Regions from separate parts of the Homo sapiens genome. Here region 2 is linked to region 1. Evidence: promoter capture Hi-C in 16 types of primary human blood cells and fetal thymus (Javierre and others, 2016). All regions are on one chromosome and are shown on one strand. The core of a region is centred on a gene start or on the middle of the fragment in contact, and the rest is flanking DNA. Distances in the headings are between cores, read along the strand shown. Region 1 holds the start of CDH19 (cadherin 19). Region 2 has its middle 120 kb from the start of CDH19.

Region 1 (7,251 bases), core at 1,950-4,449:
CAAAGAAAAGTGTTATTTAGAAGAAGGGGAATTATATCCACCTGACGAGTGACATTATAGCCCATTTATTTCTCATCAAATACTATGGGGGAAGAGTTACATTTTGCTTTACCAGTTCAAGAGCAATTTCAAGCACTGTCAAGAAGTATTTGCTTAGTGACAAATGACACTACTCTCTTGAAAATTCAGAGATGCATCTATACCTTTTCTCTTTGCCTTTATTATTATTCTAGTTACATTTTATGTTTATCTTTATGTTTAGTAGTATTATCTCTACATCAAGGAAAGTCATATATTCTCCACCAGGCCTTTTTAGGAATAAAATAGATGGCAAACTCTCTGACACAATTTAACTATAAAACAACTTAAAGTCAAAAAAATAGCGACTTCTTTTCTGTGATGTATTTATGATTTGCTCATTTCCACAGGAATGACATTTCTAAATTTTGCACACAGATAAAACTGCCTAGGTTATTTTAAGACATGACTGATGTGCCAAAATTATCCCCACTTTAATACAGTATCTTGCAAATTTGCAAATTTCATTTATCATGAAACTTCTTAGAATTAAAAAACAGCTAAACTGGATCTACTGCTCTGGTATGTTGAGAAACCACTGTCCTAAAATAACATTTCAAATTTCACGTGTTGTGCCAAGGCAGGATTTTTAAAAATGATGTTTTGCTTTAATCTTAAGACATACTTGGATGATTCTGAATATAATTATTGAGTAATTAATGTGACACATTTTGACAAAGGTATGTATTCTAGAGTATGTTTTAAATTCAGACAAGCATTCTCTTAACGAATCATATCAGCATATTCAAGAGGGCAGGCATCATTTGAAAAGGAAATTGATCTGTTACACATTTTGACAGGCTTTAGAGCATTTAGCTGTGTTCTCTCAATTGAAAGGTGGTGAGAGTGGGTAAAAAAAAACGCTGTAAGGGTACAGTTTATCTTGTTTTGTTTTGATTTGATTTTAAAGTGGCAAACATCTTTCTAGTCACTTTTGCAAAGACACTCATTTTGTCAATCAGGGGCTGTCTTCACCATTGATAGAAAGGATTCCTGTGGGATTATTATTACGTTCCATACTTAGTTGTGTTTCAACTTCAATCTGTTTCACCAAAGCAAAGATACAGGTGATAGAAGATCATCGATGTTAAAGGAAATCGTCGTGACAACAAATTTTTCTTATTCACCAGCATGGTTCTCAAACACTTGGTTAGGAGCAATAAATTCTCATGTAAAGAAGGTATATAGAAAGATCAATATCTCCTTTTAAACAGTTTAACACATTTATTCCTAATGCATTACTACTCACTAACATGCTGAATACTGCTATGTAATGTTTTAAACATAACATATATTTAAGAGTACATGCTAAGATCATGAGTGGCAAAAATGATCAGTTGATATTTAGTTATAGATGATATGTATCAGATTATATGTAGCTGTATTAGGAGAAATTCCTGAAAGATGGATCTGGTTTCTTAATAATGCATAGGAGGCATCTGTGCACATCATTTTAAAGCATCTTCAATTTATGATAATTTAATCAAAAATTTTTTTATGTTTCTTGAGGAAATGTACCTTACAAACATTCCTAAGTGAAAAACAAAACAAAACAAAAAATATAAGTAGAAGACATATGCTTTTCGATATATGCAGATGTGTCTGTGTGTGCCTAAAATTATAAATATTTCACTGGAGCCTAAGTAAAGAATTTACTAATGTGTAAGACTGTAAAAATCAGATATTTATATAATGATATGAGCATTTCGTTCACTGTTATAAAGGCTTGGTAAAGTGGAAAACATATGTAAAGGAAAGGAGATCTGGTGGTTTCTAAATGACATAAATTGATTGTTTAAAAATTTTGAATAATTGCAGACAATAATGAAATGCTTATTCCTTTTAAAAATAAATTGTTAGTTATTTTATTTGGTCAATATAAATGTTCACATTACATTGAAATTTAAATTCTTTGAAATCAAAAATTATAGTAAGTAGGCATACTGCTGATAATTACAATATTAAGAATTTGAAAAAAGAATATATTAATGCATATAATTTTACTTAATATTGTAACTACATCTAAAACATAAATATATATTACTAAATTTTCAAATATTTTATCTAAATAATGTCTTTCTTACAGATATATTAATTCAACAAATGAATTAATAGAGCTAAAATATAAATTGACATAATCTAAAGAAAACCTTTGCCACTCTATTTAGGTATTTTTTGTTGCTAAATATTTTATGTTTTTATATTTAATAGATTTATTAAATCCCTTTGGTAAACTTATTTTGAAATATTTTATTATAATTAGTTATTCAATTAAAATTGCATGTACCAAATTAGAATTGAAACAATATAAAATGTCTTTTACAGTATGCATTTTCCTAATTTATACTTTTCTTAATTTATACTTTCATATTTGAGAAATTACCTTTTGTGTTATGTATAAATGTTATAATACATATAGGTAAATTAATATGCCTGTACAATTTTAGGCATATATGTGTTTTTATTCATAGCAATGCTAATATTTTAATTTTTTTGGAATTATAATATACTTAAAATTTTTCATATTTATTCTGTATATATTTTTTCTCATATACTTAATGATGACAACTCTATTGTTCATATTACCTGATATACATGGTAAATACATGATAAATAAAAAATAAAACCCTGAACAAAGAAAAAAGTGCAAAGAAAGACATGCAAAGAAAGGTTGATTCATTTATTCTAAGAAACTTGAGAAGTTTTAAATATCCTAACATAGGTGTAACTTCCCCCCAACACCAACAATCTGTATTACAGAGATGGAGAACTGTTCTCACAAATACGTGTTTTGAGAAAGTTCAGTACAAGTACACATCATGGTTTTAAAATTTTTAGAATATTTTCCTTATTTCCTATGTAAATATTTTCCTTAATATTTTTAGAATATTTTCCTAGCAACATTTTGTCATGTACTTTTTGACCTATTGACTCATTAAAGATGATGCATGTAGTTTATAATATGCCTGATTATCACAGTCTTACCTTTGTAACTTCAACTTCTAGAAGTTCTGTGAAAACTGAACAGCAAACTTCGTGTTGGACACATAAGGAAGAGTAGGAAAAACTTTCTTCTTTTTGCTTCACAGTCTTCTCAGCAAACTCTCGATGTGCCCCATTGCCCAGAGTTACAGACGCTTGTGCTTTTAGTACCACAACACTGTCAGTATGTCACTGCTTACTCAATGCTATTTTGGGTTCTCTGAGTAGAGTCATAAACACTGAGCCTTTTGTGCAAAATATCATAAGGGCACTCTGACGCTCGTTCATAGTCTGGAATTAAAATGCAGACAGCTACGCAAGTAGTATGAGCTGATTATCTTTGTTTTTTTTTTTTTTCCCCTAACAACAAGCAAAAACAAAATAAAGTACTTATTGGCCTGAGTTGATAAAGGGAGAATTCAACTTACATACAAGAATTTTGCAAGTAGAGCGGACGTGCCCTCTGTTTGGGGATTAGCTGATGAAACAAATGATCAATTTAAAGCAGACCCAAAACTTACTGAAAAGAGAAATGATTTTCCACTGTGTGTCTATGCCTCATGGCTGTTTCTTAATTCGGTCATTTCTCCTCAGAAATCAAGTAAAGACATAATGAGAGAGAAATGTCTAAACTTTAATAAGTCCTTTTCTTTTCCTTGGTTTATTATTATGTAAAATCTTTTATTTTATTCATGGTTATAATTAGATTTTGATATAAGCTATTATTATTTAACATAAAATACATATGTATTTTCTATGCTGTTTACTCAAGCTGTTATTTACTTAAAAACCATTTTTGAACCAAACTAGAGAAACATTAAAATATTAAAAGTTTCTTAAATTATACCTATATAATAAGAAAGTCTATGTGGGGCAGGATTATTCAAGCATCCTGTTAATTCTGATAGATATTTTGGTCACTATCCTCTTAGCTTTTGAGGAAAGAAATGGCAAAAGCTATATGGGCAGTAAAGTAGGACACTCAAGCACACACATATACACACATGCACATGTGCACACATGCATACACATACATGTGCACACACATACATATGCACACACACGCACAAATGCACATCCTATGAGGTTGTGAATATTAGGAGGAATCAATAATTTATGAACAAATCTTGAAGAGATGAACCTGGGAGAATAGATCTGTGGATAGCAGGAACAGTATAATGTGGAAATATTTTATTTTTTCAGGTAGAAAAAAGCATTCAGCTAGAAAAAAACACTTCTAAGTGTTTCAAGATGTTAGTAAATAGGGAAAAAATAAATTTTACAAAGAACCTCTGAAGTATTCTTATACATTTCCCCCTTCATATTTTTTACAGTATCAAAAAAGGTGGAGATACCTGTTTAAAATATTTATTTACATAATTCACTGTTCTGTCTATGACCTAGTCTAGGATTTCTGTAAGAATCTAACATTTTATGAGATGCCAATTTATATCTTGATGTTTATAAAATATCCAGTTGCACTTAGGATTGAAACCACAGTTTAGAGCCTCAGTGTACCTGTAAACATGATGTCCCAAAGGCTTATTTTAGAGCCTAAGGGAGCAAAGGTGGGTCACAATTTGCTGCCCTGATTATTACAGTACCAATAAAGAGCAATGGCAACTATAGAAACCACAGTGAGACAGGATTAAATTTTCTAAAGAAGGTACAGTGTGAAACTACATGTTTTATGTAGAATATCATTAACAGCAAACTGATTTTATTAAATAGATAATCTATTATCAAACACGTACAGGAACTAGTTGCTGTAAATTGCTTAAGAAATGCATGCCCTTTCTGGAAGAGGATATAAGATGAACAGCCGATAGCCAAGGATCCAGCAAGATTCATCCGCTATGCCACAACCAAGAATGAAGACTTGGAAGTACTTAGGGGACTGGTCATCAGATAAGCTTAGTGATTACTTCTTTTTTTTTTTTTTTTTTTTTGAGATGGAATCTCTCTCTGTCGCCCAGGCTGGAGTGCAGTGGCGCAATCTCGGCTCACTGCAAGCTCCACCTCCCGGGTTCACGCCATTCTCCTGCCTCAGCCTCCCGAGTAGCTGGGACTACAGGCGCCCGCCACCACGCCCTGCTAATTTTTTTGTATTTTTAGTAGAGACGGGGTTTCACCATGTTAGCCAGGATGGTCTCGATCTCCTGACTCGTGATCCGCCCGCCTTGGCCTCCCAAAGTGCTGGGATTACAGGCTTGAGCCACCGTACCCGGCCCAGCTTAATGATTACTTCTACGTCATTTTCTTTATAACAAGAGAAATATATCTGACTAATTTTTCATATATGGGGGGGTAATACATAGTAAATGGAACATGACTGTGTAAGAACAGAAGCTCAAAATTAAATACACTACTATCCATATGTAAGTCAGAGTTATCATACTCAGAGTTATCTGAGGTCCCCACAGCAGTAAACATGTGGCAGGATGGACAATTCCCGAAACACAAGTGATGTTTTATAGCTGCACAGTGACATTCTGGTCTATTTTCACATGCAGTCTGGGGGAATTTCACAGTTATCACCTGCCAGCAGGCTAAGGAACAGAGCTTGAAGTTGCAGAAGCCAGGATTGTATTGAGTTACTCTAAATAAAAATTTGAATTCAAGTATTATAATTCAGAGCCACCAATTTTTTAAACCAGATAATTAAGAAATATATATCTAATGACTAACCGCAGACAAGACTGGCTAATGAAGTTTGAATTTAACTGAACAGGCAGAAATGGAAAGTCAAACATTATGCAAGCTCTGATCTGTCCCTTGAAAATAGACATTTAACCAGAAAGTTTAAGTCTACCTACTTTATATCATAGGCTATACATGTGCCTTCAATTAGAAATTTAGGCCTTGTCCAATCAGGTGTTGTCAGGATAGCATAATCTAAGGACCACATCCTTCTCACATGGTCTGGAAGCATTTTAGTTCTTAAAAATATATTTAAGTTGTTTTGGGAAAAGCTTATAATATGTTAATACAAGAACATTTAAAACAGATATTTACTGTATGCTATCACTATATCAATGAGAAATCTATTGACTAGCAAGCAGATAGCAAAATCAAACAAAATCAAATCCAAAAATGAATAGAATAATGAAGAAATTCAATGTATACATAGAGAAATAAAGTAGGGTTAAGGGTTAGTTGATCCAGTGGCTTCCTACTGCAATCAGTTATCTAGGTTCTTGGGCTCTGTTTGGTTCTCCAACTTTTCCTCAAGGCCCTCAAAAACACTGTCACTTTCGTCTTATTCATCAAAATGATCACTTGTCCATGCATGAACAAAGAATGGCAACAAGAAAAGCTTAAAGTAATTGTCATTCCTGAACCTGAGAGAAAGAGTTAGTTGATAGAAAAACAGATTCATTTCCCCAAATTAGAGTGGAGTGGTTGAATCTAGTTGATAACCAACTAGACGTCCAGTGTTCACTTCAGATATTCATGTAAAATAGCTTTTAAAATGCTGAAAATAAAAATAATAATTTTCTCCATGGATTGCCATTAAATGGCATTCTTTTCCAACAGTCCAATTTGCTGTGTTTTCCATTCTGTTTTTAACATTGAATATATATCACAATGATAAATATGGGGAAATAAAAAAATGCACAATGATAGAACAAACAATAAACAAAATATTCACTAATCTATATACTTCTAACCATGCTAAAATACTTTGTATCAAAATTACACAAATTTTGCTCAGAGTAAAGAAATATTGTCTTGAATATGGCAACAATTTGTATGGTTTGAAGATTTATCTTTTAAATTCTAGTTACAGTAGCCACTTGTCTAATATAATAAAAAATTTTATTGTCATATATATGTCCTTATTTTCTTATTTTTGTATTCATTCTTTTTTCTTTTTCTTTTTATATTTAATTAATTAATTAATTCATTTATTTATTTGTTTGTTTGTTTTTTGAGACGGAGTCTTGCTCGGTCACCCTGGCTGGAGTGCAGTGGGGCGATCTCGGCTCACTGCAAGCTCCGCCTCTTGGGTTCAAGCCATTCTCCTGCCTCAGCCTCCCTAATAGCTGGGAGTACAGGCACCTGCCACCATGCCCGGCTAATTTTTTGTATTTTTAGTAGAGGCGGGGTTTCACCGTGTTAGCCAGGATGGTCTCGATCTCCTGACCTCGTGATCTGCCCGCCTCGGCCTCCCAAAGTTGTTTTGTTTTT
Region 2 (7,251 bases), core at 2,458-4,957, 120 kb after region 1:
ATTAAAATAAAATTGGAGAAACTTTTTTTTTAAACCAACAGACCTATACTTCTAGAAACACTAAAAGAAGTCCATCAGCAACACAGTACTGACACCAGATGGACACTCAGATGTGTAGGGAAGAAGAAGGAGCAGCAGACATGCCAAATATGTAGGCAAATATTTTTAAATATACATTTTCCTCTCTTAATTTCTTTAAATAATATACAATTGTTGAAAAATATTATAACTCTATATCACAATGATTACACACACATCACACAAACAGTGAGAAAGCAGCAACTATTTTGTTTCAACTTATTTTATGTGAAGTAGTATAATGGTAACTTTAAGCAGACTAATATGTTGAAAAGGCACAATGTAATCTCTAGAGCAATATTGAAAAAATGCAAACAGCCATAGCTAAAACATCAATAGATAATTAAAATGGAATGCTAACATTCATTCAAGGGGCACATTTCTAGAAATTATTTGCTCCAACAAGGACCTCCAATCCATTGAGACTCTCAACTACTCACTGACCATCTCCCTCATGTCTCCACATTCCTCATGGTTCATCTAGGATTTTGAGGCTTCTAAAAAATATTTATTCTTTTACACACACCTTCAACACCCTTCTCCCCCACTCTGTCACGGTTTCCTTGAATGCTAATTCTACTTACTTGATGTCTGTTTCTGAGCAGTTTAAGGTTGAATGCCAACCATTCTGACTTATATCAACCGAAATTTACCACTGCAACTCAGCAGGGTAAACAAGCCTGCTAATTTTCTCTAGTCAAAGCATTCTCCCAATTTCAGAAAGGACTGTGGTAGTGAGTATTCTCTTTACATTACCAGTACAACTTCTTCATTGCATACCTGTAAGAAATGGCCTTGATTTATTTCAACAGGGAAAAAGAAGCAAACAAATGGAATGGTTCATCTTGATACCATTAAATCTCTTACTCTAACTGTACCCGGAAACCATGGTTTTCCACTTGTTAGAATGGAATAACGGCCCTGCCTATCTACGGCCAAGCTCTCCAGTTCTGCAGTGAATCAAAACAGTTCTCATTTTTCTAAAACATTATTCAAGAAATAAACCACAATTGTTTCCTTTATCATTTGTCAGAACGTTCTGACATTGACTTCCATGTTGCCACATTTAGTGGGCAATTTCCTGTCTTCATTCTATTTGATATCAGCAAAATTTGAGGGAGATAGAATGGCCCAATTGTTTAGATGTATACGTGTTGGTTTTTTCACCTTCTTCTCTAGCCAATCCTGCCTAGAATCCTTGCTAGATTCTCTTCTACAGAAAATTTACCTCTACATATAAATATCAGATGTAAATAACAGTATATTTCTCCAAGGGTCAACAATTTTTTAATAACATAAATCAGTTAAAAGGAGCAGCAGCAAGTCGTCTGAACTTTCAACAAAAATTAAACACAAATGAAAATAGTACTATTTTATGTGGGTCTCAATATCCTTTTTTTTTTTTTCCTTTTGATACAGAGTCTTGTTCTGTCACCCAGGCTGACTGCAACCTCCCCCTCCCAGGTTCAAGGGATCCTCCTGCCTCAGCCTCTTGAGTAGCTGGGATTACAGGAGTCCAACACCATGTCAAGCTAATTTTTTGTGTGCTGTTAGTGGAGACGGGGGTTTCACCATGTTGGCCAGGCTGGTCTCGAACTCCTGAGCTCAAGTGATCCATCCACTTCAGCCTTCCAAAATGCTGGGATGGTAAGCATGAACCACTGCACCTGGCTTCAATCCTTTTAAAATATCATTTTTTTTTAATTCAGCAAATATTCAGACATACCAAAGAATAGAGACACTAAAGGGGGAATATGTCTGACCTGTCTTTTATCTTACGCTGAGCAGAAAAGTCTCAGGGCCTGCAGAAATTTCATTCAGGACAGAATGAATGTTTCCTCCACTAAGTTAGGTTGAAAGTAAAGTTTGAGACAAATAAATGTGTGTGATTATTATAGTCTACAAGCTATGCTTGTTCAATATGAACAACTGCATTCATTGGCTTTGGAGGGCTGATCTTTCAGTCTGTCCAAGATGTGAAATATTAGCATGCAGAAAGGGCCCTTTCTGATTTAAATCTGAGAAAGAAAGACTGTCTCCTCTAAGAAATCTTTTGCTATTTTAGCTACATCAACGGTAACTGAAGTTGATGCTTTAGATGGCATGTAGGTTGCATTTGCTTCAGTCTTTGGGATAGGAAGGGTTCTAGTCTGAAAGGAAAGTGTAAGTGGGAGAAAACTGAGAGCCATGTTCTGAGAGCACTTACACTTGTAATCGTGGGTTTCTGGAAAAGTGGAACTCTAACAGGGATTGGGAAGTAGGTTAGTAGTAGAGAGGGGTCCAGAAAGCTTCCTTAGACTCTGGGAGAATCTTTTACTACATCAAAACTGCAAAATTAAATGGACGTAGAAAGCCATTATATCTCTGCTATATACTTTAAAAAGCTCCACAACTAATTAGAAAAAGTTGGCTATGGTTGGTTATTAAAGAATAACTCTAGTTATTTTTTTACATTCTATTCACTATTTTCTTCTCAGTCTCAGGTTATACTGTCAATTGCTTATCAGAATCTTTATGAAGAAGGCATCTTTGCAAAATCATTTTATTCTGAGACTTTATTTTAAAAATATGACAATACAAATATCATCCTTTAAAAGTCTTCCCTCTAGCCTCCAAAAGCATTACCCATATGAGGTATACAAAGTCTTGTACAACACATTATAATGTCACTACAATTCTTCCTATTTATTCCCAAATGAGGAACATTAGCAATGACATTAAGAACCAGATGAGAAAGAAATCAAACTTCAGAAGACAGAGAACAGAGCATACGCTCATATCTCTTGTGGATGAAGCTATGTTTATATCAATGATAGTGAATTTCAGAATGTACTGTCCTGAATTTTGCAAGCTGAACAAAGACATATTGTAAAACAAGATCACGCTTTGTGGTAGAATTGTGAACTGCTAGGAATCAATAAGAGGAGAAAGTTCATGTTGCCACACCCCAGTCAGAAATGAAGTGGAAATACAAGAAACCATGCCAAAGGTAGGCGGCTTTGCAAACAAACCACAAGTACTGACTCCATGAGCAGCTTAGTCCCTAAGCGCAGATATTTGCCTTTTTGAACAGCTGTTTATTGTAGAACTTGACTGTTCTACAATCAAATTTTTCTCAAGGAAACACAGAGTTATTACAGATCTTGAATATATTGTTCAGAAGTCACAGTGAAAATGTAAAATCAAGAGTACTCTCTGAAATACCACTAAGACAGAGTGATTTCTGATACATTCATTCCCAAAACAGTTCAAGTCTCTTGTCTATCTGATATATGACAGGCATAGGCTTTGCTATAAAAACTGCAAGGACAAATGAAACTAGCTCTTGCGGTCAGATTGCCTACTTTCTAAATGAAAGAAACTCAGGTCAATTCACATTTTAATATGTTTTTGTAAAAGGCATAAATGGTATATGCACAGGGCTTTTTATGAGGAACATAGAAGAGAGAATTAACCATGTCTAACTGGTAGGAAGCACTGAAAGTCACCTCTAGTACAATATTTCTCCACACAAACAGGTTTAATAAAAGTGTATGTTTTAAGGCATAATAAGAAACTGTAGCATTGTGGTTGGGCATAATGGCTCACGCCTATAATCCCAGCACTTTGGGAAACTGAGGTGGGAGAATTGCTTGTGTCTAGGAGTTTGACACCAGCCTGGGCAACATAGAAAGACCCAATCTCTACAAATAATCATAATAATAACTGTTCTAGGCATGTGGCACATGCTTGTAGTCTCAGCTATTTGGGAGGCTGAGGCAGGAGGCTTGCTTGAGCCCAGGGGTTTGAGGCTGCAGTGAGCCGTGATCATGCCACTGCACTCAGCCTGGACCACAGAGTGAGACACTGTCTCTAAATAAATAAATAAATAAATGAATAAACAAACAAATAAAACTTAAACATTGCTTTGCTACTTATAAGATAAATGGGGTAGCTGAGGCCCTCCTCCAGGGTGGGATCATGCCAGCTGGTGCACTGGAAGGCTCATAGTGCTTGTTCACATATCTGATTCCCAGAGCTCTGTGACAGATCCTGAGCCATTTTCTCTGGGTGGGTAGAGGAGAGTTGGTTAAACCCTTCCAGCCAGCTTACCAAAGCAAAGGTGCCAGATAAATACATACTATGCTAGTTTAGTTTAATTAATTTATCTTACCATAGCATTTTATTTATGTATTTATTTTAGGATGGTGGTTTATAGGAGAAACCTAATAACATAAAGGCACTTGTGACTCAGGAGAGAGGGCCCCACAGGTTGTTGGAAATATTACCTGAGCAGTGCAGGAGTATCTTGTGAGTAGCCTGTGCTGTAGGGTCTGCAGCCAGAAAGAGAAATAGGAAAATCTAAGGGAAAGTAGAACACTGTGTCAAATGCTTATAAGATCTCCAAAGCAAGGACATGATGGTGGAGAGGAGGGTGGCATTGAAACACTCCCAGAACATGTACTATATGATTCTACTACATTTTAAAATTCACTCATCAACTTATGCCTTTGCCTTTTCTTTCCTACTAGATGTGAGTCCCTGGAAGGCAGGGCCCTGCTCTAATCTAGCTGTCTTTTCACAGCAAAAGCAGGCAATGGAGGAATCAGAGAAGGCAAATGAAGGGCAAAGGCTCCCATGCCTTGATGAGGACAATAGATTGGTCACAGTTTGACTGATGCCTGGCCACTGCAGGTAAATGAATCAAATGCATACACAGCACACGGATTATAGCTACACACATAGCTCACAGGTTATCTGTGGCTGATCAAACTAGTGTGCAAAACTCATGGAACGCACCCAAAATCCTGAATCATACATTCACAAAATTGGGGAAAAGCTGCAAGATGAAACTTAAAGAAGTTTATTTTGGATTACAGTATATATTTCTGATATGCTCAGTTGGTATAAACCATTATAAACAGAATGGCAGAAAATAATAGGGTGACACTTGCAAATAAATGAAATGCATGATCTTGAAATCGAATAGACTAAGCTTTAACATGCATTGTCTTGCAGGCCCTGTGACCTCAACTCATTTAACCAAAGCCTCACTCATTTCATCTAACAACTAGAGATGGTAATTTCACTTAGCACAAACTCTCCCACAAGTTAAGATTTGATAAATCTTGACCATTATGTTTTTTTCAGTGAGTTGTATATGAAAATATTTCACTGTGTGCTTTTAAAATAATATTTATTTTTGTTTGTAATTGACAGATGATAATTGTACATATTATTGGTGGACTATGTTATGTTTCAATACATGGATACATTGTGCAATGATCAAATCAGGGTAATTAACATATCCATCACTTCGAACACTTTTTTTTTTTTTTATGAGACACAGTTTCACTCTACCTTCTGGGCTGGAGAGCAGGGTGCAATCTTGGCTCACTGCAACCTCTGCCTCCCGGATTCAAGTGATTCTCATGCCTCAGCCTCCTAAGTAGCTGGGAATACAGTCGAGCACCACCACGCCAGGCTAATTTTTGTATTTTTAGTAGAGACGGGATTTCACCATTTTGGCCAGGCTGGTCTCGAACTCCTGACCTCAAGTGATCTGCCCGTCTTGGCATCCCAAAGTACTGGGATTACAGGCATGAGCCACCGCGCCTTTCCGCCTGTCATTATATTTTTTGTGATTAGAACATTTAAAGTCCTCTCTTCTACTTACTTTGAAATATGCAATATACATTATTATTAACTATATGCTTTTAAGAATGAAAACACAAGTTATGCTCCTTAGCTTACAAAACAATTTTGAAAAGTAAGGAATATTCATGAGAAAATTAATCTAGGAGACATCAAAAATATATATTGTCTATGTATGTATGTGTGTCTTTGTGTGTATGTGTTTTACTCTATGTATATTAGAAATAAAAAGAATTTTTTTGTATATGCAGCCATAAGAATAAAACTATCACTGCAAAATGCAGGAAGTGTAAAGAAGAAAATAAAAATTAAATCTATCCTTGAAAAATGTGCAGCAAACTTTACAGACTCCCGAGATACCGTGGTGCCTAAGAGACCAAGAATCCTCCAATTTTTCTGTCCAGATTGGGATAACTTGAAAATAATGCCAAAGCATATTCAGAATTAGTTGTAGAAGGGGCCCGGATATTCCCTAGTATAGAAGTCAAGACTATATTGAAAGGCATTTAATTGGTGGTAGCTGAGAGTTCACCTCTATCAGAATATTCAAAGCAAATGATGATTTCTGGCCCCTACTTAAGAGCAGAAATCAAATATAGAAAGAATGAAGATACTTTGGCATAATGGGAGCTGGTTAATGCAACAGGATGTGACAGTGGTTCCTGACTTGCACAATCTTTAGATACACCACTTGCACTTGCTGAGCTTGTGATGAAACACCTTCTGTGTTTTTATCATATTCAATTTTATTTTCCTGTATCAAGTGTTTTTCACACCTGTTTTCTTGAAGGATTTGAATACCATTTCACAGAGAAAAACTAATGACCATGAAGTTGATGTTGACATTTTTACAAATGTATTAGTATTTCAAAACACAACATTATAATAAATATTATATTCAAAATATGTCCAGATTACATATACTATAAACATTTGCTACATTCAAGAAATCAAAGTGTAGCTGATGCACATGAAAAATAAAATTTCATGTTCATTTTTAGAAAACTTTTAGAAATTGATATTTATTTTAATATTTCTAGTCGTACAATAAAATTATTTATAAGATTTGTCTCTCAATCCAATCATCAGTCTGTGTGATTTCTGAGCAAAATCTCATATTGGAAAATGTGTGGCATTCATGTTACCTTTTTTGTAGAATTCTTCTTCTGTTTTGTGTGTTTCTAGTCCACCTTTCCAGCTTCTCCAAGGTCTCAAATTACTTCTGATTCAGCTGGACAGTATAATTTGGATTTCAATTCCATTTCCTCTTATCAACATTTAAATGAGGTAAACAAAAGAGACGTCACTGTTTATCTGACAGTTTGTAATTTAAATATCATTTATTACTTTTGGTTGGGATTTGTATTTTTTTCTAGAATATATATCAAATGTCAAATCAACGTCATTTCAATCCATAGAATTATTTTAAAACTTTATACATGTTTTCACTGCATGGAATCTCAAGAACCATTAGTTTAACTTCCTCTATTTACAGCTTAAAAAAATGAAGTTGATGGAGGTTATACTATTTGCCCAATA

What was found. The method cuts DNA at HindIII sites, captures the fragments that hold promoters and counts their contacts. A CHiCAGO score of 5 or more calls a contact.
Region 2: a fragment that was not itself captured here is called in contact with the fragment with the promoter of CDH19 in region 1 in 1 of 17 cell types (M0 macrophages); the score reaches 5.8 in M0 macrophages.

What each region holds. Positions count from the first base shown.
Region 1 is chr18:66,600,891-66,608,141 of GRCh38, forward strand. It overlaps CDH19 (cadherin 19), which reads right to left and starts at 3,200. Exons shown (of 12, transcript NM_021153.4): 1 at 3,064-3,200. The HindIII fragment of the contact is 9,771 bases long and covers 1-4,971 here.
Region 2 is chr18:66,721,818-66,729,068 of GRCh38, forward strand. No RefSeq gene overlaps it. Among named protein-coding and RNA genes, the nearest start is that of CDH19, 120 kb to the left of the region's middle. The HindIII fragment of the contact is 2,687 bases long and covers 2,365-5,051 here.